Linked DNA regions of Homo sapiens: region 2 is linked to region 1. The links are contacts of gene promoters, found by promoter capture Hi-C in human tissues and cell types (Jung and others, 2019). All regions are on one chromosome and are shown on one strand. The core of a region is centred on a gene start or on the middle of the fragment in contact, and the rest is flanking DNA. Distances in the headings are between cores, read along the strand shown.

Region 1 (2,700 bases), core at 177-2,676:
CTAACCCCAGCTCCAATCTACCAATCAATTGTAGCTACGCTTTTAAACGTGTATCATTACTGTTCGCAATTTGCTGCATTGATTTAAAGAGCTTGTTTTAACAATTTCCAGTTATCAGGGCCCTCAGACATTTTTGAAAAACCTACCGAATCCGAAAATTATTCCTAACACCAATACAGTACTTAACGAAGAGTGAGCTATTTTAGTAAGTTCTTAGTCATTTAAGAGGGAGGTTTTAAGAAATGAACCGCAAGTAGGAATAAAGAAAATGTATAATGTTCACTAAACTTTTACTATTTTGTCACACACAGCTGCATGACAAGTCATGATCTTTAAATATATCAAAGCAAACTTTCAAAAAGTACTTAAATATTATGTCAAAATAAAAAATTGCAAAATCCGAGGTTTTTTTTTAAATTGTGCTTCAAATTAACCAGTCACAACCACCAGTAAAAATAGGGAAAGAGGGGGAGGGGGCTGTCCCATGACATCATCTGGCAATATGTAGTTTGAAGCCTGACAGCGCTCTCCAAATAACCCTTACGAAGATACAGCTGGGAAATCATCCCTGTCAAGCTTAGATAACTTGGGTTTAAATAAAAGGTTCAAAAAGCCTCCCCCCACCTGAGTCACATGTCTGTACCATATGAAAAATAAAACCATCACTGATGCATCTACCTCCCACTACACTGACAGCAACGGAAAGGTCACAATTAAGTGGAAACTCGCCGCAGAGCCTGTTTAATCTGAAGGGGGAAGGGAAAGAAAAGCGAAGAAAAGGACAAAAATCTGCGCGCCTCCAAGGCAGGCAGGCAGGCAGGCACCTCCGTGGAAAACCCACTCCCGCCTGCTGACACCTATGCTCATCCAACAGATCATGCCGACTCAAGATGCAGGTCATTCTCTTAGAGAAAGTGGGGGCCCAAGCCCCAGAAAATAACCCAAACATCCAGCGGAACCGACCACCCCCAACATTTCCCGAGGGTGGTAGGTGTACCTCGCGAAGTGTTCGGGGCTGTCCACGAGGCACAACTCTTTTATTTCTGCCCAAGGAAGGGCGGCCTGAGTGCGTCTCCCTGGAGTGCCAGGGCGTGCCCAGGGTAAACGCAGGCCTCCTGACGGCCCTCGCCCGGCCGCCGTCCCTCCCAACTCCCGCCGTCCGGGGCGCCAGACGGCCCCGGCCCACCACCTACCGCGGTCGCGCCGGCGCCCGCCGATACGATGGGCGGCAGCTTCTCGCGCTCTGACTCCTTCCCTTTCCTCTCCTCAGGCGCGGGCGCCGCCACCACCAGCGGAGTGGCGGGCGAGGGTACCCGAACCGCCTCACTCATGTCGGGCCGGGCGGCGGGAGCGCCAGGCGGCGGCGGCGGCCTCAGTGTTGCTGGGGCTGGCGCTGCTGCTGCCGCCGCGGCCGCGAGAGGGCTCTGGGCTGCCGCTTCTAGCCGCCGCTGCCGCCGCCACTCCGCCCCCGCCCGCGCCCGCGCCTTTGCGCGCGAGCCCGAGGCCGCCCCCGCGCGCGCCAGCCCCGCGGACGCGGCTCCCCACAGGTCCCACAGGTTTCTTGCTCTCGCCTCCCCCGCCCGCCCGGGGCTCGCGCGTCGCGGGTCGGGAGCGCCGGCGGTAGTCCCCCTCGTCAACCCCGAGGGCCCGGAGAGAAGGCGCCACGGTCGACGCCCGACCGCCATATTGTTTGCAGAGTGTCGCCCGAGATGACGAGGAGACCCCGCACCCGGGCCGCGCAGGAGAACCTGGACTAAGGACGGGCAGTCGGGGAGACAAGTCGAGCCCTGCAAAGGGTCGGACGGGGATAGAGTGTCCGAGTGGTACCAGTAGGGCAGGACGTAGGCACAGACTACCCTTCACGGACGGCCCTGGCCTGCGGCGCCGAGTCCCGCGGGCAAGCGCCCTCGGGGTCTGGGCTGGTGGCCTTTCGCCTTCTTCCAGGCGCCCACAAAGCTGTCCGCCTTGGGGCTTCTGCCTTCTTATCCTTGCCCGCCCTCCTGAGCCCAGGAGAGGCGGCCCGGAGCTTGCGCAGCCCGGGGAGACAGCCTTCCTGGCTCAGCAACCGACTCTTTTGTACACGCCTGGATGGCTTCAGCCTACACAGGAAAAGCCTGGAGGTGGGGAGGAGTGCGACGTGGTGGGCCCCCCCTTTCCCCTTCCCCCATAGGATTGGACGGCCAGTCCACACTTTCCATTCCTGTTCCTCTCGTCCCTCTTTGACTGCCAAATCCGCCTCTCCCTTCCCGTCCCCACGCGCCTACGTTTTGCTCTCTCCCCGCAACCCTTTGCTGTCTCCTATCCGTCCCTTCCTTGTTCCTTTCCGTTTATGTTAGAGATGTACATACCCAAACTCTGCTGCACAGTCCTCAATCAAATCATTACAAATAGGAGTAAAAACTTGAAAGCCGAAGAAGAGAGCTTTTAATTATGAAATTAAAATACCCCCCACCTCCACCACCAGGACACCTAGACAATTTCCTTTCCTTTCTTGTCGCCCCCTCCTTTTCCTTTTTCTCAGTCTACTGGAGCGGCGGGGACACCTGCTGATCTAGGAGAAAAGAGAGTAAGAATGCGCTGTATCGCCTGTTAAAAGCAAGGAATTTCGATATTCAGCTCTATCAGATTTTTTATCTGTGCCTTCATTATTTTATTGGAGGTTGAGTGAATTTTTAGATCAAGAGTACCTAAGTCCAAATA
Region 2 (2,715 bases), core at 153-2,652, 1.7 Mb after region 1:
TCTCATCACTTTGTAAGTCTTAAGAGTGAATCATTATGGAATATGGAGATCTCGAATCCTATTGTTATAGAATGCTTTATTATGATTACCTTAAGAATTAAAATCATGTATTTATACCTGACTATTCATTAGTTTGCTTCATTTAAAAGCAAACATGAAAATAATATAACAAATGTATTTTTTTTATTGTTGCCTCATCCATTTGGTTGATATCAAGCAAAAAATAACCATATACAATAAAGGGATTTTGCCTTTTAAATATCATTTTTAAAAGGAATTTGCTGTAAGACCTCAACTCTTTTTGTTTTTTTGCATTTTATTTCAAAATAATTTTAGCTTTGCAAGAGTTCCAAAGAATTTAGCTTCCCTTAATGTTATCATATTACACTACCATGGTACATTTATCAAAAATCAAGAAATTAACATTGGTATACTACTATTAATTACACTCCAGACTTCACCATCATTCACCAGTCTTTACTTGTCTTTAATGACCCTGACACTTTATACTTCATACTGGTGAAGCAGTAAGTATAACATCCTCCATTTGGGTTTGTCTAATGTTTTTTCGTGAAGAGTCTGAGGTTATAAATTTAGGGAAAGAATACCAAAGAGGGTATGTGCCTTTCTGGTCACATCAAACCAGGAAGCACACAGCATCAATATGACTAATGGTAATGTTATTCTTAAACACTTGGTTAAAGTGGTATCTGCTAGGTTTCTTCACTATGAAGTTATTATTTTTTCTTTTCCATAGTCTATTCATTAGAAGAGAGTCACTACTGGCCTACTTAATTTTATCTTTTTTTTTTCTTTTTTGCCTATTTAATTTTAAATAATTTATTTCTAGATTCTAGAAAAAGTCAAAACAGGATGTTATTAAAAACAAATTTGTACCTTTTTGTACACTAAAATATACCAAGAGAATGCATTTAAATCATCTTTAAAAACAAAACTGTTTACCTTGAGTTGCTGAATGGTTCGCTGTTTCATATCTAATTCCTGAGAACACTGGTTTTTCTTTTTCTCCAGTTCATTAATTTTAATCCTCAGTAATTTATCCTCATCACGCATTACAGATACCTACAAAATAATGTTTATAAAACAAATGGAATATTTTAAAAATACTAACTGCTTTTTGTTATTTAAGATTCATGGCAACTATGTTCAAAGATTCACATCCTTTACAGCCTAAAAGAAAAATGACAGATTTTAATATACTACAAATCAAACACACTATAGCTTCAAATTATTAGAAAATGTTTTAATACTCTAATGAAGAATGCATATGAAAAACTCAATTTCTTGTTCCATTATTTAAGAATCTCAAACTTTTTAAGTTCTCTCAAAAAAGAATTATCATAACATCTATACATAATAGGGAAATAATTACCAAGGAAAAATCAATAAAGATATTCTGAGAGAAAAATACTGATTCAAATTTCCAAAGTTTATTGAGTAATATAATCCAGGAATACAAGAAAAACTTTAAAAGCTAATAATGACATGCAGGGAAGAAAATGGAACAATCACAAAATCAAAAGGTACCCACGCAAGTGAAGGTCAATTGATTTCTGCTGTTGCCGGTAATCTAATGCCATAAACGTAGGGAAATCGAGGTACTATGGACTAATATATATATTAATTTCTCACCCAAAAAAGCTAATATAGGTACATCCTTATACTAGTTTCCATCATACCAACCCCCTCTGAAACCTTTCAGTACATCTTGCCAGGATTTCCAGAGGGAAGTTATCTAACTGGCAGCAGAGCCTTCTCTTCTATTCCCTTGTGGAGCTTTACTGCCAAAACTCCATTTTCACACTCGCTAGAGAGCTCAAAAACGGAAGGAAATTAAATGAAAAGATGCCCCATAAAAAGCATAGAGAAGGCCGGGCATGGTGGCTCATGCCTGTAATACCAGCACTCTGGGAGGCGGAGGCAAGTGGATCACGAGGTCAGGAGATCGAGACCATCCTGGCTAACACAGTGAAACCCCATCTCTACTAAAAATACAAAAAACATTAGCCGGGCATGGTGGCACGTGCCTGTAGTCCCAGCTACTCGGGAGACTGAGGCAGAAGAATTGCTTGAACCCGGGAGGTGGAGGTTGCAGTGAGCCGAGATCACGCCACTGCACTCCAGCCTGGGCAACAGAGTGAGACTCCGCCCAAAAAAAAAAAAAAAAAAAGGCTTGAAGATGCCCTTATTATAGTAGCTCAGAGTGGTATGGTTTCAGAGGATTCTTACATTGTTTTAAGCTTTATGTTCCAATAATACATACATGATAATCACATATTCATAATATTTGCTAATTTTGTTTAAAAAAATGAGGCTTCAAGTAATAAACACCATCTTCATCAACTATATAACTAACAATAATAGAGGCTATGTGCTGCACAAAGATGCATGTAAGGACTGCCTCGGTTTCCATTCTGGCTCTAGCACTTACTACTGAGTGAACTTAGACAAGTCTTATTAAGACTAAGACAAGTGAACTTAGACAAGGACAAGTTCCCCCTTATCCACAGGGGATATGTTTCAAGATCGCCAGTGGATACCTGAAACATTGGATAGTATTTCAAGATCCCCAGTGGACAGTATTGAACCCAGACACCATCAATCGAAACACACTTCTGTTTGCATCCTCCACCCACAAATTTAATGCTTTTTCCATCTTAGCTAAGCAATTATCATGAATTGTGGCCATAACTT

Evidence for each region. Contacts are between HindIII fragments. The study calls those that stand out against the background at their distance.
Region 2: a contact is called between a fragment that was not itself captured here and the fragment with the promoter of HECTD2 in region 1, in 1 of the 25 tissues and cell types used here (bladder).

The regions. Positions count from the first base shown.
Region 1 is chr10:91,409,070-91,411,769 of GRCh38, reverse strand. HECTD2 (HECT domain E3 ubiquitin protein ligase 2) reads right to left here and starts at 1,426. Exons shown (of 21, transcript NM_182765.6): 1 at 1,194-1,426. The coding sequence starts at 1,331. All of the region lies in intron 3 of HECTD2-AS1 (HECTD2 antisense RNA 1), which reads left to right. RefSeq lists a silencer at 1,070-1,659 and an enhancer at 1,810-2,019. The HindIII fragment of the contact is 7,826 bases long and covers 1-2,700 here.
Region 2 is chr10:89,742,176-89,744,890 of GRCh38, reverse strand. KIF20B (kinesin family member 20B) reads right to left here. Exons shown (of 33, transcript NM_001284259.2): 22 at 964-1,083. Among named protein-coding and RNA genes, the nearest start is that of KIF20B, 42 kb to the right of the region's middle. The HindIII fragment of the contact is 3,872 bases long and covers 1-2,715 here.